7 separate regions of the Homo sapiens genome follow, and regions 1, 2, 3, 5, 6 and 7 are each linked to region 4. The links are contacts of gene promoters, found by promoter capture Hi-C in blood cells and fetal thymus (Javierre and others, 2016). All regions are on one chromosome and are shown on one strand. The core of a region is centred on a gene start or on the middle of the fragment in contact, and the rest is flanking DNA. Distances in the headings are between cores, read along the strand shown.

What was found. Contacts are between HindIII fragments. The CHiCAGO score rates a contact against its expected background, and 5 or more counts as called.
Region 1: a fragment that was not itself captured here is called in contact with the fragment with the promoter of SNHG25 in region 4 in 1 of 17 cell types (monocytes); the score reaches 5.6 in monocytes.
Region 2: a fragment that was not itself captured here is called in contact with the fragment with the promoter of SNHG25 in region 4 in 1 of 17 cell types (total CD8 T cells); the score reaches 5.1 in total CD8 T cells.
Region 3: a fragment that was not itself captured here is called in contact with the fragment with the promoter of SNHG25 in region 4 in 1 of 17 cell types (monocytes); the score reaches 6.0 in monocytes.
Region 5: a contact is called between a fragment that was not itself captured here and the fragment with the promoter of SNHG25 in region 4, in 1 of 17 cell types (monocytes). The highest score is 5.1, in monocytes.
Region 6: a fragment that was not itself captured here is called in contact with the fragment with the promoter of SNHG25 in region 4 in 1 of 17 cell types (monocytes); the score reaches 6.1 in monocytes.
Region 7: a contact is called between a fragment that was not itself captured here and the fragment with the promoter of SNHG25 in region 4, in 5 of 17 cell types (naive CD4 T cells, monocytes, non-activated CD4 T cells and 2 more). The highest score is 9.3, in naive CD4 T cells.

What each region holds. Positions count from the first base shown.
Region 1 is chr17:64,475,789-64,478,538 of GRCh38, reverse strand. POLG2 (DNA polymerase gamma 2, accessory subunit) reads left to right here. Exons shown (of 8, transcript NM_007215.4): 8 at 551-754. The coding sequence ends at 716. It also overlaps a transcript of MILR1 not described here. Among named protein-coding and RNA genes, the nearest start is that of POLG2, 20 kb to the left of the region's middle. The HindIII fragment of the contact is 2,875 bases long and covers 1-2,750 here.
Region 2 is chr17:63,713,277-63,715,976 of GRCh38, reverse strand. It overlaps STRADA (STE20 related adaptor alpha), which reads left to right. Exons shown (of 13, transcript NM_001003787.4): 5 at 1,869-1,971; 6 at 2,450-2,571. Among named protein-coding and RNA genes, the nearest start is that of LIMD2, 15 kb to the right of the region's middle. The HindIII fragment of the contact is 2,532 bases long and covers 10-2,541 here.
Region 3 is chr17:64,617,685-64,620,384 of GRCh38, reverse strand. All of the region lies in intron 1 of SMURF2 (SMAD specific E3 ubiquitin protein ligase 2), which reads left to right. Among named protein-coding and RNA genes, the nearest start is that of SMURF2, 43 kb to the left of the region's middle. The HindIII fragment of the contact is 1,787 bases long and covers 512-2,298 here.
Region 4 is chr17:64,144,592-64,147,496 of GRCh38, reverse strand. SNHG25 (small nucleolar RNA host gene 25) reads right to left here and starts at 1,527. Exons shown (of 2, transcript NR_132278.1): 1 at 1,497-1,527; 2 at 1,188-1,267. It overlaps SNORD104 (small nucleolar RNA, C/D box 104), which reads right to left and starts at 1,419; the gene lies at 1,340-1,419. SNORA50C (small nucleolar RNA, H/ACA box 50C) reads right to left here and starts at 1,158; the gene lies at 1,026-1,158. It overlaps TEX2 (testis expressed 2), which reads left to right. Exons shown (of 12, transcript NM_001288732.2): 12 at 1-270. RefSeq lists enhancers at 1,099-1,308, 1,286-1,840. The HindIII fragment of the contact is 1,672 bases long and covers 604-2,275 here.
Region 5 is chr17:64,516,016-64,518,803 of GRCh38, reverse strand. CEP95 (centrosomal protein 95) reads right to left here. Exons shown (of 20, transcript NM_138363.3): 5 at 1,976-2,081. Among named protein-coding and RNA genes, the nearest start is that of CEP95, 10 kb to the right of the region's middle. The HindIII fragment of the contact is 6,240 bases long and covers 1-2,788 here.
Region 6 is chr17:63,744,661-63,747,556 of GRCh38, reverse strand. CCDC47 (coiled-coil domain containing 47) reads left to right here. Exons shown (of 13, transcript NM_020198.3): 13 at 596-2,302. The coding sequence ends at 676. Among named protein-coding and RNA genes, the nearest start is that of STRADA, 4.3 kb to the right of the region's middle. The HindIII fragment of the contact is 1,668 bases long and covers 537-2,204 here.
Region 7 is chr17:64,497,980-64,500,889 of GRCh38, reverse strand. DDX5 (DEAD-box helicase 5) reads left to right here. Exons shown (of 13, transcript NM_004396.5): 12 at 117-341; 13 at 564-2,636. The coding sequence ends at 967. MIR3064 (microRNA 3064) reads left to right here and starts at 51; the gene lies at 51-116. The HindIII fragment of the contact is 275 bases long and covers 1,517-1,791 here.

The DNA of each region.
Region 1 (2,750 bases), core at 131-2,630, 330 kb before region 4:
GGAGTCCTACAAAGGAAATAAACAGTAATGAGATAGTGTGACTTGGTAAGCATACAGAAGGTCAGCCGTGCATCTATCTGTTTGGTTATTGCTGAACTAGAAGCTATAAGCTAGCTACTCAATAAAGGAAACATGATTTTGGTATAATTTGTTATACCAAATTGCATCTTTATTATAATATTGTTTATTGTAAGAGACTTCAGTCTAAAATAATTGTTCTTGGATTGCATCCAAGAACCAAAAGGCTGAGGTTATTATGCGGTTCTTCTGTGATATCACCCCAAATGATGTGTTGAGGTACCAGTGTTTATTCTCAGATTTTATTTTCTTTTATGACTTTTCAGCTCTAGCAATAAGTTAGAAACTGTCTGAAAATATTACTTTAAATACAATTCAGAAACTTTAAAAATGTTGGGTTTTTTTGGTCCACCCTTAAGCCCTGAGTCTGTGACTCTTGAGAGTGCATGAACACTGAATTACAGCTGGCAACGTGGAGGAATTTATTATTTACATTTGTGCTCATGTGTCTGTTTAACTACTTTTTTCTTAGGTATGATGAAATGAGTATTCTCTTCACAGTTTTGGTTACTGAAACTACTTTGGAGAATGGATTAATACATCTGAGAAGCAGAGACACCACAATGAAGGAAATGATGCATATATCCAAATTAAAAGACTTTTTGATTAAGTATATATCATCAGCTAAGAATGTATAGATTTTTATATTTGTATAATAAATATTCTTCTCTCCTAATTTGGTTGTCTTATGTTCACTTAGATTTATTTCTAGCCCCTTTGCACTTATAAAGTGGACATTTGTGGTGCTTGCTTTCATTCAGTGTTTATATTTTTTATGTCTTTCATTGTATCAGGAATATGTTCAGCTACAAGAAACAAAAATCTACTATACTGGATTAAGCAAATTGGGGTTTGTTTTTCTTACATACAAGAACTCTAGCGGGTAGACTGTCCAAAGCTAGTATTACTGTTTCTATAGTTAGGGACCCAGGCACTTCCCTTCTGTTCTGCCATGTTTAGTACGCTGGTGTTTATCATTGTTGCTTCGGGATCTTAGGTGGCTGCTGTATTTCCAGCCTAATTATCATTCTAGTTAGGAGAAAAGTTAAAGAGACAAGAGCTAGTCAGCCAACACTCTTCCCTTTTAAATTAGGGAAGTAAAAACTTTTCCAGACATCCCAGTCGGGAGATGTCTTTACATCTCTTTGGTCAGAACTAAATCACATGATAATTTCTAGGCAAATCACCATCCAAGGGAATGAAAATGATCTGATTTAGATCAAACGCAATTTATCCCTTGAGGCTGCAATAGTATCTTACTCTCTCAGAAATGGGCTTTGTTACCAGGAAGGAAAAGGTCTTTATGGAATCTGCCACATCTATACTGTCAGATATCAAAAATTAACCTAAAACTAAACTTTTAAAACTTAGAGTATTTACGGATTTTTGAAAAGCAACTAAAATATATGTTAGATGTCATATATTGTAGTTTGTTTCCTGTCTAATATCTATGTTTATAAGAAATCTTTTAACTTTTATGTGTTGATATGATTGTGTAAAATATCCCATTGTTACCAACTTGACAAAAATTCCAACTGATAGTGCCTGTAAAATATTTCAAAAGTTTGACTGACTTAATTGATTTTACTTGGTAGGTTTTTCTCTTTTTTTTTTTATTTTAATTTTAATTTTTTTTGTAGAGACAGGGTCTCACTATGTTGGCTAAGCTGATCTTTCACTCCGAGCCTCAAGTAGTCCTCCTGCCTTGACCTCCTAAAATGATGGGATAACAATTTTGAGCCACTGCACCTAGCCTTGTTTTGGTTATTTTATGCTTTTTTTTATTATGGAGAATTTTAAAAGCAGACATATAATTGTACTAATTCTATGTAGTGATCATCTAGCACCAACAACAATCAACCTTTGGCCAGTCCCACCTCATCCACTAATACCACCCTTCCATATTATATCAGTAATTTATTTATTTACATTTATTTATTAATTTAAGAGACAGGGTCTCACTATGTGGCCCAGGCTGGTCTCAAACTCCTAGGCTCAAGTGATCCTCCTGTCTCAGCCTCCCAAAATATGGGGATTACAGGCATGAACCACCTCACCTGGCCTCCTTGAATATTATTTCAAGGCAGATAGCAGCTACCATTTAATCTGGAAATATTTAAGGATCTTTTGTTAATAACCACACTATTATCACATTAAAAAAATAACACTACATGATATCAAGGAATTATTTACAATTTTGTTGGGTGTGATAATGGTAGTATGTTTATATTTTTCTTTTTAAAAAAATCCTTGTCTGACAGATACATACATTTATGGTAATTGAGACTTGCTTTATAATTCTCCTGTTTAAAACAAACTTTTTTAAGTGGTGGGAGATGAAATAAGAATAGCACTGAGTTGGCCAGTGGCTGACGCTTGTAATCCCAACCCTTTGGGAGGCTGAGGCAGGTGGATTACCTGCGGTCAGGAGTTTGAGACCAGCCTGGCCAACATGGTGAAACTACTAAAAATACAAAAAATTAGCTGGGCGTGGTGGTGGGCGCCTGTAATCCCAGCTACTTGGGAGGCTGAGGCAGGAGAATCGCTTGAACCCAGGAGGCAGAGGTTGCAGTGAGCCAAGATCGCGCCATTGTACTCCAGCCTGGGTGACACAGTGAGACGCTGTCTCAAAAAAAAAAAAAAAAAAAAAAAGGAAGTGGTAGTAGTGTCTG
Region 2 (2,700 bases), core at 26-2,525, 430 kb after region 4:
TTACAAGCTTTAGTCAGGATACATATTCAAACATGTTTATAGTAGCACAGTCCATAATAGCAGAACTGAAAAACAACCCAAATGAGCCATCAAAGTTGGAATTGGATAAACTGAGATATATTCATGTGCTGAATATATGATACAGCAGTGAAAATGGGCGAACTACAGTGAAATACAACAATATGGCCAAATCTTAGAAATTTAAAAATTGATTAAATTAGAAATGGAATTTGGTGACAGGGCTTAATTTTGCTTGACTAGGTTCCTCTTATTGCCAGGGTAAGTGGTGAGGGAGACAGAGCCCACTTGAGGGTTTCTTTCCCCATCAGCAGCATCAACTGTTTTGAAACCACATACAGCCAATAATCTCAGCTCCTGCCAATAATCTCAGCTACTTGGGAGGCTGAGGCAGGAGGATCAATTGAGCCCAGGAGTTCGAGGCCACGGTGAGCCAGGAACTCACCACTGCACTTTAGCCTGAGCGACAAAGAGATAACCCATATCTTAAAAACAACAGCAACAAAACAACAAACAAACCAGATACACGTGAAACGTCAGCCAACAGGGTGGTAGATTAATCTCACTGGTTTGGGCCTGGGTCCTGTGCCATGTACTCACGTTTTGATTTTTGGCAAGTCACATAATCTCCTTGGCCCTCGTTTTTGTTAGTGAAAAGTGGAGATAAGATCTGTCCCGGCTACTTGACTGAGCTATGGAGGAATCATGTGCAATTTGGAAGTGCTCTGGAAAGTATACTCTGGTCATCTTACAGGTATAGAGCACCGTCATCTTTATGGTTTCCTCTGCAGAGCCGCTTCCCAAAGAGTTGTTCAAGCACCGCCTTTTCAGAACACTCTCAGCTCGTGCTCTTCTGGGTAGTGCTGGGTCAGGAGCCTCTCATACTTTCACAAAGGACTTTTTCTGCCTGGAGGTCAGGTTTATGAGTGCAGCACATGAAACATGAGCTGGCCCAGGTTTCTCCATTTCAGTTAGATGTGCATCTAAAGAAAGAGAATCTAAAAGAAAAGCAGTCACAGTCCCTAAATCATACACATAAATTTAGGTGTGGAAGAAGGAAACAGTCCATTAAGCTGAAAGAAGAGCTGTTGGTCTGCCGTGTGTTTTGCACAAACTCAGACATGGCTGGACACCTTCCTCTAGGACCTTAGAGGCCAGAGTTGTGACACATCCTAAGTGGCTGGACTCCAGCTTCACTCACAGCACACGTGGGCAGGAACGAGGGAGCAGGCCATGTCAGCTGCCTGGACGATGCCTGAGACCTGACAGCTCTGTGCCTTGCCTGCAGCTCAGGGCATCAGGGTTCTCCCACTTCACTTGGAAATGTCAGGCAATGACTGGCCCGGGCTCTTGGTTTGCTAAAGAGGGGGCTACTCCTGGCCACATTTTCCCTAGAGCAAGATTCAGCGTTTGACCTTTTGGGATCTTGTGGTGAGGACCTTAAAAATAGGATCCTAATGCATCAGGAAATTCATGAGAACCCCTACCTCTCCACCTGCTTCTCTTTTCCAAACATGCTTTCATTCTCTAGACATCCCTTCTCCAAGTGAGAATTTCATAGCTTTTAGCAAATGCATTGATTGTTGGAAAGGACAAGCAGATTAACATTTGATGGGAACAGGTCCTTGTCTCCTCATTTGTAGACAACCCTAACACTTGCTCTGATATTAGTGCTGATTACTACCCTGAATGTAGTGTTTTGTTTCTCTTCAAATAGTGCTGGCACTGAGTCGGGATTTGTGTGTGTGTTTAGATGCCAGTCTCCTCGTGGGTCTGAATTACCACCTTCACCCCACTCCCATCCCACCCCCAGTTTTCTCTACTAACCTATTTTTCTTTTTCTTTTTTAGACCAATGATGCGAGCTCAGAGTCAATAGCATCCTTCTCTAAACAGGAGGTCATGAGTAGCTTTCTGCCAGAGGGAGGGTGTTACGAGCTGCTCACTGTGATAGGTATGTGCAGGGGCCGTCCTTACTCTCCTGCTTTCTGCTCCAGGGGCTGCTGCAGCTTTCTCAGCAGCCCCAGATGTGTGTACAGCAGAGGCCATCCACTAGTTAGGAGGATTCATGGGCACAGACTTGCTTCTGTGGGTCTTCTCTGTTTTTTTATGCCAAGTATGGGAAGAGATCAAACTTCCAGGAAAGAAGCTCTTTTGCCATCTTTCCTTTGTGGCTGCCATGTTTCCGGTGTCCTGGCCATAGTGAGTCAGAAAGGTTGGCTGAGAAGGAACTGATGAGAGAAAAATCAAGAAATGTGAGCCATGAACATAACAGTTAAATTCTGCTGGGAAAAGGAAAAAAAAAAAAGTAACAGTAGTGAAAAATTTAACATTAAGTTTCTTTTGAAATCAAGTCCCTTTTTTAAAGGAAAATTTTCTTAAAACCTTTTGTTGTTCTTGTCCTTGCGTATGGCATTCCCTTTTTCTTTTAGGCAAAGGATTTGAGGACCTGATGACTGTGAATCTAGCAAGGTACAAACCAACAGGAGAGTACGTGACTGTACGGAGGATTAACCTAGAAGCTTGTTCCAATGAGATGGTAACATTCTTGCAGGTAATAAACCATGAGTGTGTCACATGGAGGGAGGGTGGGCTCTTGGCTCTGATAGGAATTACAAGGAATTACAAAGAAATGAAGGGAGACTAAACGTTCGGAAGTTATGGAAGCTTTCAGTGGAGAATC
Region 3 (2,700 bases), core at 156-2,655, 470 kb before region 4:
CACAATGCCTAAACTCTTTTCCTAGGTGGCAGTTAGGGGTGAGCCAAAACATTCACTTACAGTTTTTCTGTGGATATTAGATAACTCACAAGCTTTAGGGGTTAAAGAAAACAATCTATGTAGAAGTTTTTTGGCACATTGTAAAATACTCTAGATGTATTATTTAAATGTGAACACTGGAAATGGAGATAAGCAGAGGTATGTGATAACCGGCTATAATCTGGCAACTGCTTTAGGTATGTGAGGTGGTCAGGGAGAGGAAGAGAGATAAAGACATTGCTTTCTGGATGACTGGAAACGTGGTGCAGTTCACAGCACTACGGAGGTCAAAAAGAAGAGCAGGTTCACTAGGGAAGCTGATGAATTCCATTTTGAAAAAATATAATTTGAAGTGCTGGTGAGGAATCTAAATGGGTGTATGAGTTCGGAGCTTGGGAAGAGAGTGAGGCTAGAGAAACAGATTGGGACTCAATTAACAGCATTTACTGAAAGCTTGCTAGGTACATAAGCTTTGCTATGAATGGAATGTGTCCCCCAATATTCCTATGTTGAAGCCTAATCCCCAATGTGATGGTATTTGAAGGTGATGCATTTGGGAGGTAATGAGGTCATGAGGGTGGAGCCTTCATGAATAGGATTAGTGCCCCTATAACAGGAGACATGGGAGAGATTATGGGGGCCATGCAAGCATACAGGGAGAAGGTGGGAGTATGCAAACCAGGAAGACGGCCCTCACCAGACATTGACTCTGCTGGCACCTTGATCTTGGACTTCTCAGCCTCCATTGATTTGTGAAAAACAAATGTTTGCTGTTTAAGCCACCTAATCTATGGTATTTGTTTTGGCTAAGGCAAACGTCTTGCCAAATTATATTCTTCTTCTTTTTTTTTTTTTTTTTTTTTTTTTGAGACAAGAGTCTCGCCGTGTCACCCAGGCGGGAGTGCAGTGGTATGATCTCGGCTCACGGGAGGCTCTGCCTCCCGGGTTCAGGCGATTCTCCTGCCTCAGCCTCCAGAGTAGCTGGGACTACAGGCACATGCCACCATGCCTGGCAAATTTTTTGTATTTTTAGTAGAGACGGGGTTTCACCATGTTAGCCAGGCTGGTCTCGATCTCCTGATCTCATGATCTGCCCGCCTCGGCCTCCCAAAGTGTTAGTATTACAGGCATGAGCCACCGTGCCCGGCCATGTTCTTTTTTAATGTGTTTGCAACCTCGTAGGTTAATTTTATGAGAAATTTTAGAGTTGAGTAATAATAATAGCCAGTGTTTATTGAGCACTTGCTGTGTACCAGGTACTGGTCTCATGTTCTCTGTGTTTCAATTTGTTTAATCTTTAAAACAACACCATGAGGTGGCTCTTAGTATCCTTCTGTCCTCATGTTTACAGATGAGCTATCTGAAGCAAAGAGAAGTTAAGTAGTTTTTAGGGTCACAAGTTCATAAGGGATAGCACCAGGTTCAAACCCATGCATTCTGACCCTAATTATTTAACTCTTTTATAGTGCTTATAGCTTAACACACTATATTACACTGCCTCTATAAGTGTCTCTAGAAAAAGAAGGTAAAGGAAGGAAACTTGGGAGTGGCCAAAAAGTGATGCAAGTCTTTTTCTACATATAAAATAATGTTTAGGCTTCATTGCAAGTATATACTTGAACTTTACAATAAGGTTTCCTTCTCTCGGCATCCTTATGAAGAAAGTAAATTGTGTGGTTTAATTTAAATATACAATATTCATCTCTTGAACAGCCATCAGTTATGAGTGGGTCTGTTTGAATGAAGGAGTCCAGTAGAGAAGGTGGTGGTTGAGTCTCCAGCAGCAGCAGACAGGATAATGTTTGGTCTGCACACAGCATAGGTCTTTAAGTCATGGTGAATTTTTGAATGGAGAACGGTACTTTTGTGTATTTTCATCCTCATATAGGAATAAAGAATTCACAGAAATACTGGTTTAAGATATATAACAAATCCTTTCAGATGGTTTCTCAAAATAATAGCTTTCGTAGAGTGCCTGCTATGTACCAGATACCTAGACCAAGTGTTTTACATTTATCTCATACTGAATGTGCTGCTTGGCTTTAGCTGAGCTTTTACTTTATTTATTTATTTATTTTAGAGGCGGAGTCTCACTATATTGCCCAGGCTGGTCTCTAACTCTTGGGCTCAAGTGATTCTCTCACCTCAGCCTTCCAAAGTGCTAGGATTATAGGCGTAAGCCACCGCACCCAGCCCTTTTTTATTTTTAACATGTGAACTTACACCAGAAGTTGATTATTATGCTTGTTAAGATAAGCTTTACTTTAAAATTACCTCTGATCACGATAAGTAAAAAAAATTATAATTGTGACTAGAATAAAATCTATAATTCTGACTAGATTTCTTTAAAATCTGCATTTATTATGTCAAAGTAGATCTATTATTGATAAACTTGCACTCAGTGTTTAGAAAGCTTATTTGTATAGTCTCATCTTGTTTTATTAATGTAAAAAGTACGCATGTTTGTGAGAACTTTACCAAAATCTTCATCTTTGTTGAAAAAAAATTTTTAAGTAGTTACTTAAAAGTTGTTTGATATGAGTGGACTAGAAAGGTCATTTTAAATTTGTTAACTGAGGCTGGGCGCAGTGGCTCATGCCTGTAATTCTAACAGTCTGGGAGACTGAGGTAGGAGGATTGCTTGAGCCTGGGCAACATGGC
Region 4 (2,905 bases), core at 278-2,777:
ATGTGGGGATTTAAAATCGCTTGCATTGTTTCACAAAATAAATATCTCAATGTCAAATACTAGATAAGCATCTAAGTCATTTCTACGGAATCCTGTTCAGATAGGGGCACAATAAAATGAGTACAGAGCACCGGGGCCCTCACCTGGCAATCGCAGCTTTCATTTACTGCGTTGATCACTGCCCAGTCCTAAGGCTACAAAGCCATCCTCACTACATCCTTCAAACTATGTGCCATTATCTTCAGCCCACATTTAAAGAATCCAGTGAAAGTTCGTAACTGAGGGGGTAGGGCAGTGGTGCTCCTGGGCTGCAGTTTACACCCTTCATTGTCTAGTATAATGTTAATTCGGGACACCTTCATTCATCGAATGTCCATGTAGTGAACGCATACGTGCATCCTTGCCCACCATTGCTGCCCTGTACTCAGAACTGATGCACCTTTCACTGGAGCCCTTGTGGAAGATCTTTTACCAATCACTGAATCTGGACTGTGTAACTAGGTGTCTATGTTGTCCCCAACCATATATAAAATCTAATTCACCTTCACAACCGCCCTATAATTTTGAACTGTTTAGGAGTGACAGATTAACCTGCCCAAAGCTTTAGTCCCATGCTTGTCAGTACTCCTGCATGGTTATTTGTAAACAGGTCGATTACCCTTTAGTCAGGAGTTAACTCAATGCAGTTCCACACCGAATCTGTTTATGTCAAGTACACAACAGCCCTGCAGACGCCATTCCACGCTGCCTTCAACTAAATCTGCGCGTCTGATGGCAGACGCGACAGCCTGGGACTTATGTCGAACTCACGGCGAAGGCACAGCGCGCGCGATACACTCAGGGAAGGCTGGGCTGGGGAACGTATGGGAGCAGAGGGGCACTCCTTACGCATCAAGAGTCCGCGTATCCCCGTCAGCCACCGCCCCCCTAACACGCCATTCCAGCCTTGGTATTACGGATTGAGGCCTGTCGTGGCAAAACAGCTGGAAAATTGCCCAGCCTAGCAGCCGGACAGTCAGGTTACTTCTTGTCGCTCGCGGTTAAAAAGGCCGCCCGCGGGAGGCCAGGCGGCCCCAGTTATGCGCAAGCACATGCTCTAGCGCTGCAGATTGACCCCCGGCGCCACGAGGAAGCTCGGCGGGGGCTCAAAGACAGCGCGTCGCCAACGACACACACCGACACCAGGGTTGGGTTCAAACCACTTTATTGACGGGAATGGGGTGGCAAAGCAGCAAGGACGATGACATCCGACGTCCTCGGCTGGGAGCTACAAGAACGAGAGTGATAGATCAGCGGGTGTGCGCGCGCCCGCCCGCCAGCCCCCTCCCAGCTCCGCTCGGGCAGGCTCAGACTCCAGTTCGCATCACCCGCGTCAGCAGTCTAACACGTGCTTTAATTGGAATGTCATCACAGCAGGCCGGCCCCCCTACGCCTCCCTGCTCCCGAGCCACGACCTCCGGGGCCCACCCAGCCAGACGACCCGCCAGGAATACAACCTGACCTCCCGGAACCTGCAGGCGCTGAAAGACAGGGGAGCGTCGATGGCGTTCTTTTAAAGGAGCAGACCAGCGCTGATGGGCGGGCTTTACTGCCATTAACCAATAGCAAGTTCACCTTGCGACCACGTGCGCGTAAAGTTGTCTGGTGACTGGTAGTCCTTGCTGAGTCCTCCAGAGGATAGATGGGTCACATACCAACCATAGAGATGGGAGTCGCTCAGTCTCAAATCCATTTGCGTTTCAGCGACTCCACCGCCAGCTGGTAATGAGCGCATCTCTCCGCAGTACGCAAAAGAAAACTTCACCAAGAGCAGGCGACGATGATGCCTAACTTGGATGACATGTTCTGTGCCAGGAGCTAGGATAGGAGTTGAGAATGGAAAGTTAAAAACTGTCCCCAAGTGCAAAATAACCTGTCGTGGTAGAAAGAGCTTGTATTGAAAATGGACCGATCTGCACCACATCCTGACTTTGTGATGCGTTCGCTCTGTGACCTTGCTCAGTTAACCTTTCTGAGATTCAGTTTCTGGAAATTAGGAATACCCCCCCGCCGCCCCCCCCCAACACACACACACCGCGAAAAAAAAAAATTGTAAGGATTCGGTGAATTAATGCCAATTGCCTGGCACATTCTAAGTGGTAAACAAAGGTATTTAAAGGGCAGAGTGATGTGAAAAACTTCCTGGGATTGCAAAACTTTAATAAATACTAACATAGCGCTATGAACAGCCTACTGTAGAAGCCCAAAGGACAGAAAGCCTGACTTTGGGAAAGCTTCGCAGAGTTGATTGAGCCTGTTCCCCGGACATACAGGTGGATGAATGATAGTTTGCTTAACTGGGGGAGGACACAGTACACCAGCAGTCACAGTCGCCGGTTATCTTTATTGCCTCCCTGTTTTCCTTGGGAATTCTTTTCCTTTTTTTCCTCTTAATACGGAAAATTTATTGTTTTGTGTGTGTGTGTGTATGTGACAGTGAAATCATTTCACCCTATGGGTTTGTAGTTGAATGGGCTCTTATTTTCCTTATTTTCTATATAGACTTTAAATTCAAAAAATTCCTCTTTGGCCGGGCGCGGTGGCTCACGCCTGTAATCCCAGCACTCTGGGAGACGGAGGCGGATGGATCAGGTCAGGAGTTCAAGAACAGCCTGGCCAACATGGCGAAACCCTGTCTCTACTAAAAATACAAAAATTAGCCGGGCGTGGTGGCAGGCCCCTGTAATCCCAGCTACTCAGGAGGTTGAGGCAGGAGAATCGCTTGAACCCGGGAGGCGGAGGTTGCAATGAGCTGAGATCGCGCCATTACACTCTAACCTGAGCAACAGAGCGAGACTCCATCTCAAAAAAAAAAAAAAAAACCTCTTTAATCCAAAGCAATAATGACTTTGACAAGTGTTTAGTA
Region 5 (2,788 bases), core at 240-2,739, 370 kb before region 4:
GAGGCTGAGGCGGGAGAACTGCTTGAACCTGGGAGGCAGAGGTTGCAGTGAGCCGAGATTGCACCACTGCACTCCAGCCTGGGCAACAAGAGCAAAACTCTGTCTCAAAAAAAAAAAAATTTCATCTTATGATGGTCTCCTCTGAGACACATTTTTTACAATGTACTATACCTAAAAAAGAAGGCATTGCCTGTGCTCTTCGAACCATGAAGACATAGCATTATGCTCAACCTCTAGTTAGCAAGAAGTGCAATCAAACCTGTCATGACAATACATTTTTGTCTATGAAAGAAGCACAAGTTTAAAAACTGTGAAAATGATCAATGATACTGGCTCATGAAGGTCCTGTAACCCAGCATTGCTATACTGTTGGTAAATGTACAGTCATGGCCTTTTTGGAAAACAGTCTGGCAACTTTTATTATTAGCCTTAAAACATTTACACTGTCTTACTCTGAATCTAGCCTCAAGATATGAGGAAAAAAAGAATAAACATTAAGTATCACGTTTTTGATAATATTTAAAAAAACTCTCTACTTTAGAGGAATGGCTTAGTAATTTATGAAGCATCCACATGAATGATGTTATACAGTGATTACAAATTATTATAAAGAATTTAACAACTTGAGGCTGGGCGCAGGGGCTCACGCCTGTAATCCCACCACTTTGGGAGGCTGAGGCAGGCGGATCACTTGAGGTCAGGAGTTCAAGACCAGCCTTGCCAACACGGTGAAAACTCACCTTTACTAAAGATACAAAAATTAGCCAGCCGTGGCGGCGTGCACCTGTAGTCCCAGCTACTCAGGAGGCTGAGGCACAAGAATCACTCGAAACCGGGAGGCAGAGGTTGCAGTAAGCTGAGATTGTGCCACTGCACACTCCAGCCTGTGTGACACAGCAAGACTGTGTCTCAAAAAAAAAATTAAACAACTTGAGAACACTTAATGTTAAGTTTAAAAATGCAGGAAACGAGCCTGGTGAGGTGGGTCATGCCTATAATCCCAGCACTCTGGGAGGCTGCAGCAGGAGGATCGCTTGAGGCCAGGAATTCAAGACCAGCCTGGTCAATATAGCAAGATGCCATCTCTGTTAAAAAAAAAAAAAAAAAAAAAAATTAGCCAGGTGTGGTGGCGCACACCTGTGGTCCCAGCTACTTGGGCTTAAGCTCAGGAGTTCAAGGCTACAGTGAACTCTGATCACGCCACTGTACTCCACCATGAGTGTCAGAGCAAGACCCTGTCTCTTTATTAAAAAAGCAGGGGTGAGGGGCAGGCAACGAAATTATATAGACATATGACTAAATCCAAAAAAGAAAAAAATAGTAAAAAGGACTAAAAAATTTAACAAAATGTTAACAGCAGTTATTTAGTTCGGAATAGATTTTTTTTCCTGCTTTTTCTATTTTGCAAGTTTTTTGCAAAGATGATGACGTACTTTGATGATTAAGAGAAAAACAGGGACCAGGCGCGGTGGCTCATGCCTGTAATCCCAGCACTTTGGGAGGACAAGGCAGGTGGATCACCTGAGATCAGGAGTTCGAGGCCAGCCTGACCAACATGGTGAAACCCCATCTCTACTAAAAATATAAAAATTAGCCGGGCATGGTGGCGCGTGCCTGTAATCCCAGCTACTCAGGAGGCTGAGGCAGGAGAATCCCTTGAACCTGGGAAGCAGAGTTTGCAGTGAGTCGAGATCATGCCACCACACTCCAGCCTGGGCAACAGAATGAGACTCCGTCTCAAAAAAGAAAAAAAAAGAAAAATATAAAAATGAGTAGATAGTTGATACTGAGATTTAGGTATTATATGTAACTCAAGGTTCTTAAAACTCCCTCAGGAAAGTTTAAAATATGAGAAGTTAGTAGAAGTTTCACATTAGCTTTTTTTGGTGCCATCTTGGTATATTACGTGTGATTTTAATTCTTAGTCCAAAAAGCGTAACTTGTTTTCATCAAATTCAGAGACACTAAGTGCTACCTCCCAAAAGAAACTCTTTTCCATGATGATTTAGATTCTTTAGTACTTTCTGGCTCTTCCAAACGTTCTCCTCGATCAGATTCTTTAAAATACTGTTCAGTTTCACCTGTTCAGAACAGATAAAAACAATACCAAAAAACCCCTAAGTGAATACTACTTTTTCTATGTAAGAGGCAGGGAAAGGTAAGGACAGTGAGGCACCCCTAACTTGCCATGGTAAACAGGGTTCTAGTGAAAGTGCAATCAGAAAGAACCAAATCACCTGTAATGAGCATGTATTATTCGAGTAACAAAGAAACAAGAATATTGCTTTAAAAACAGGGTCTACAGTTGTATGAGCAATGTTTTATTTTTTAAGTCAGTGGCAGGTCCATTCAATATTTTTATACCTCTCCATCTGTAAAGGATGTCTGAGGTATATCAAGGTGACAGAAAACGTGATTGTGTCAACATAATGCAAGCTCCAAGATAATCATGCCTTAGGCTGAGTCAGGCTGTATCAGGGCTTGGATGAAATTTTTCTTAAGACCATCAGTCTTTTTCCACCCCACCATACTTGAAGAATACATACTTTCACCAGTAGCTATAACTCACTAGGGAAATAATTTCAAAATACATGTAGGTGAAACCTCCCATGATTCAGATTTACCCCTTTGGATATTCTCATGCCCATGTCTAGAGATTCACCATTCAAACACCCACCTTCATTTTTTTCTACTTCCATATTCACCAAGCAACATTTCAATAACATCAATTAACATTTATTATGCATTTACTCTGAGCTAGGCTGTGTGCCCAACTGTTTACACACAT
Region 6 (2,896 bases), core at 121-2,620, 400 kb after region 4:
CTGAACCTTCTTACTCTTCTATGTAACTTCCTAATTCCTAAATAAAAATATGATAAATTTGATAATTTTTATCACATTTGATAAATATGATGTCTCAAATAGAGCATTATGAATTTAAGTATTATGTGCAGGTATGGTGTCTGTGCTAATAAGAAATTTGCAATGAATAACCTGATGGAACAAGATTCTTAAAATTTATTGAACTGAAGTAGAATGTATCTTCTGGCAGTTATACATTTATGATATAATGCCATCATGAATGGTATGGTGAACATCAGGCTAAGTGTTCCCTGGGTACAGAAAAAAATCAAACCAGAATAACAAAGGCTGGTTAATTATAGTAGTTTCTTTCAAAACTGAGATTTTAGTTTACCTTTGCTTCATTTGAAGTTGATTTAATTTTTATTCACTAATGTAGATATTGGCAATTATTTTTATAACTATCTTCTAGAATGTTATGGTGCAAGCCTAAGTTTTTGAATAATACTATAGGCAGTATTCTAATTTGGATTTTTTTTTAACATATGTTTCAAGCTTAATTTGAATTCTCTCGTCCCCACTCCCTTTCTCTATTTATTACCCCTTCTTTCTCTAGGAGGCTGCATTGAGGCGTGAGCAAAAGAAGTTGGAAAAGAAGCAAATGAAAATGAAACAAATCAAAGTGAAAGCCATGTAAAGCCATCCCAGAGATTTGAGTTCTGATGCCACCTGTAAGCTCTGAATTCACAGGAAACATGAAAAACGCCAGTCCATTTCTCAACCTTAAATTTCAGACAGTCTTGGGCAACTGAGAAATCCTTATTTCATCATCTACTCTGTTTGGGGTTTGGGGTTTTACAGAGATTGAAGATACCTGGAAAGGGCTCTGTTTCAAGAATTTTTTTTTCCAGATAATCAAATTATTTTGATTATTTTATAAAAGGAATGATCTATGAAATCTGTGTAGGTTTTAAATATTTTAAAAATTATAATACAAATCATCAGTGCTTTTAGTACTTCAGTGTTTAAAGAAATACCGTGAAATTTATAGGTAGATAACCAGATTGTTGCTTTTTGTTTAAACCAAGCAGTTGAAATGGCTATAAAGACTGACTCTAAACCAAGATTCTGCAAATAATGATTGGAATTGCACAATAAACATTGCTTGATGTTTTCTTGTATGTCTACATTAAACTTGAGAAAAAGTAAAAATTAGAACACTGTATGTAGTAATGAAATTTCAGGGACCCAGAACATAATGTAGTATATGTTTTTAGGTGGGAGATGCTGATAACAAAATTAATAGGAAGTCTGTAGGCATTAGGATACTGACATGTACATGGAAAATTCTAGGGACAGGAGCATCATTTTTTCCTTACCTGATACCACGAACCAGTGACAACGTGAATGCTGTATTTTAAGTGGTTGTATGTTTATTTTCTTGAGTAACAAATGCATGAAAAATTAATGCTTCACCTAGGTAAGATCATTGGTCTGTGTGAAATCACAAATGTTTTTTCCTTCTTGGTTGCTGCAGCCTGGTGGATGTTCATGGAGAAGCTCTGTTCTCTATATTATGGCTGTGTGCCGTTGCTTCTCCCTCTGCTTTTATCTTTTCCACAGTTGAGGCTGGGTATGTTCTTTCAAAGAAATGGCCATGAATATGTGTAAGTATACTTTTGAAAATGAGCTTTCCTAAACTATTGAGAGTTCTTTCCACCTCTTGCGGAACCAACTCTTGGAGGAGAGGCCCATGTATCTGCACGAGCACTTAGCTTGTTCAGATCTCTGCATTTTATAAATGCTTCTTACCAAGAAAGCATTTTTAGGTCATTGCTTGTACCAGGTAATTTTTGCCGGGGATGGGTAAGGGTTGGGTTTTCTGGTGGGAGTGGGGTGGTGGGTATTTTTTGTTGATGCTTTAGTGCAGGCCTGTTCTGAGGCAATAACAAGTTGCTGTGAAAACAGCATGTGCTGCTGCCTTTGTAACTGCATGGAAACTTTTCACATGGGTTTTTCTCCAAGTTAATACAGAAATATGTAAACTGAGAGATGCAAATGTAATATTTTTAACAGTTCATGAAGTTGTTATTAAAATAACTAACATAAAACTTAATTACTTTAATATTATATAATTATAGTAGTGGCCTTGTTTTACAAACCTTTAAATTACATTTTAGAAATCAAAGTTGATAGTCTTAGTTATCTTTTGAGTAAGAAAAGCTTTCCTAAAGTCCCATACATTTGGACCATGGCAGCTAATTTTGTAACTTAAGCATTCATATGAACTACCTATGGACATCTATTAAAGTGATTGACAAAATCTCAGAGTGCCGCCTTGACTTTGTGGAGTTATCCTACAAGAGTATAAGCTCAGAGGAAAATTCTTTCTGTTCGATAAAAGTCAGCACTGAAATGCTTTTCCTTCAAAAGAGTTCATCTGAATATTCCTTTTGTTATTACCATTCAATCATTTTAAAAACATTTTATATTTTTAGAGCCCCATATGTTATTTATGGGCTCCTCCCTGCATTCCACCTCTTAAGACTCCATTAACTCTCCTGTGAATGCGAGGACAAAGAGAGGAGGATGTTGTTTAGTGTCACAAACTGGAAAACCACTAAGTCTCCAATCTCATTTGCATTGCCTGGATGTTTAGCAATGCCAAAATAAGCACTGGACTGTAAGACAAAGACCTGGCTTTTAGTGCCAGCAGAACTAATTACTAATCCTTTGACTTTCGGCAAGTTATTAACCTAATGTGAAGTGAGGATAGTAATTATTTGCCCTGCCTGCTTCACAGGTAGTTGAACACTAAGAGAAAATATATATGTGAGATTGTTTTGTAAACTGTTTAAGCACTTTGCAAGTATAAGGCATCATCTAGGACTGGTCTCCAAGTGATGCATTCTTGCTT
Region 7 (2,910 bases), core at 405-2,904, 350 kb before region 4:
TTTGCAGCCCGTACCTTCTTGGGAATACAATTGTCTAACTTTTTATTTTTGGTCTGGCTGTTGTGGTGTGCAAAACTCCGTACATTGCTATTTTGCCACACTGCAACACCTTACAGATGTGGAAGATGTGAAATTTGTCATCAATTATGACTACCCTAACTCCTCAGAGGATTATATTCATCGAATTGGAAGAACTGCTCGCAGTACCAAAACAGGCACAGCATACACTTTCTTTACACCTAATAACATAAAGCAAGTGAGCGACCTTATCTCTGTGCTTCGTGAAGCTAATCAAGCAATTAATCCCAAGTTGCTTCAGTTGGTCGAAGACAGAGGTTCAGGTAAGGATGACTGATAGGAAATGTTGGTAGTTACGAGTCACATCGTTGTCTACAAATCCATTTAAATGGTATTGGAGGGTGAGTAAAACCTTGAATGTGAAAACTTAAGCTGAAAAATTGTAAAAACATTTCACGCCTACCATGAATAGATCTGTTTCTTTCTGTCCACAATGATTTGTGTCATAGACATAATTGATCAATTTGCAATTGTTTTCTTGACAGGTCGTTCCAGGGGTAGAGGAGGCATGAAGGATGACCGTCGGGACAGATACTCTGCGGGCAAAAGGGGTGGATTTAATACCTTTAGAGACAGGGAAAATTATGACAGAGGTTACTCTAGCCTGCTTAAAAGAGATTTTGGGGCAAAAACTCAGAATGGTGTTTACAGTGCTGCAAATTACACCAATGGGAGCTTTGGAAGTAATTTTGTGTCTGCTGGTATACAGACCAGTTTTAGGACTGGTAATCCAACAGGGACTTACCAGAATGGTTATGATAGCACTCAGCAATACGGAAGTAATGTTCCAAATATGCACAATGGTATGAACCAACAGGCATATGCATATCCTGCTACTGCAGCTGCACCTATGATTGGTTATCCAATGCCAACAGGATATTCCCAATAAGACTTTAGAAGTATATGTAAATGTCTGTTTTTCATAATTGCTCTTTATATTGTGTGTTATCTGACAAGATAGTTATTTAAGAAACATGGGAATTGCAGAAATGACTGCAGTGCAGCAGTAATTATGGTGCACTTTTTCGCTATTTAAGTTGGATATTTCTCTACATTCCTGAAACAATTTTTAGGTTTTTTTTGTACTAGAAAATGCAGGCAGTGTTTTCACAAAAGTAAATGTACAGTGATTTGAAATACAATAAATGAAGGCAATGCATGGCCTTCCAATAAAAAATATTTGAAGACTGAATTAAGTGGAAATTGTACTTTATTTTATATAATGTCATGTAAAACTTTGCTTAAGATGGTCTGGTTTTTTTTTTGTTTTTGTTTGGTTTTTTTTTTCCATGAAAACAAATGACTGTTCCTTTTTATTTAATTTGGGAGGCAGGGGGAATCAGAAGGCCCTTCTTTATAATGAGCTATTCATATTGCAGGAGTCAGAATGAATTGATACAGGTGAATTTTTAGTTACAGGCTAAATTGCATAAAAGCTTTGTCAGCTTCCAGCATCAGGGGAGTCATTTAATAGCCTTTTTCCTTATTTGCTAGTATGGTTAAATGAGAAAATAGTAAAATAGATACAAAGTCATCTATATAGTGTGAGAACGTGGGTGACTTTTTCAAAGTTTATAATTTAAAAAGCTCCAAATAACTGGCTTTTTCAAGAGACTTATACTCATGCTCTTGGCTATACTGTGAATTACTGAAATGTTGAACAAACCTGTGAAAGACATACATTAGCCCTTTAAGATGGCCAGGAGCTAAGCTTGAGTCTCCTTTACTGAATTTCGTTCTTAGTGCAGGTTACTTGTAGATTCTAGTCTTCACAGGCTCCCTGGGGCTCTTAACTAGTCACACTGGGAGTCATGAATGTCTTTCCAATAATTCAGGGAATTCTAGAGATCCTCAAACTGTAAGGTCTATTCATACTCAACACAAGGAAAAAACCTCATTAAAATTAATGACTAATCAGGAGGCAACGTAACCAAAAGCACAGTGAATGAAAGTTTTCATGGTAGGTTCAACATGGGTTTATTGCTAGAAAGATCCAGGGGATAGCTTTAGGTTTAACTTCGGCTCACCAACGTAACTTTCTAATCATTTATTTCAGTAATAGCTAGAAGTGGGTCTGAATGTTTTCCCAGAGTCTGATACGTGTTTTTTTTTGCCAGAAGAGAGGTCTTCAGGAGACTTCATTTAAATTCTGATTATTAAACTGAGGCTTTAATTGATGTTAATGCCTTATGTCAAATGTAAAGTTAGAATTTGCTAGGGCTGGGATAGGGAGTGATATTTCTAGGACTTAGACATTGAAAACTAATTCAGCCTGTAGTAACCTGGATGGTTTTCAATGGCATGGTTAGTCAAATTCATGGTTTTAAACTTAGAAGCAGCTTTCGGGGGAGAGGGTAGGTTGGAGCATTTATTACATATTTTACTGTTTAATGTCTTAACCGTGGGCCTTTTAATTTGTAAACACTGAAATGATTGTTGGGCTGTGGAAAACATTTACCTATTTACCTTGGAAGTTTTAAAAGACAGTCCACTTTTTAGCATGTGTGTTGTGTCCAGCCTGTGGTCGTCTTAACTAATAAATGTGATTTTTCTCCCCATTCTCTCTTTTTATTTATTTGCGTATAGGCCTTTTACCTGGTGTGAGTTCCTGAATGTGGAAAACACCTGGCAGTAGTACCCAGCTTTGCAGTTAATTACTATCTAGCTGGCCTTTTTTTAAACCCTTGTATACACTTGTAAAGAAGAACTATTTCCTGAACCTGGTACAGCACTTTACTAATGATAAAACTTTACTCCTGAATTACATTAACTCAATTGCTAAGCTGTTACCCCTCTTAATCAGGTAGTAGTTTGGTAGTCTCACAGTGAAAT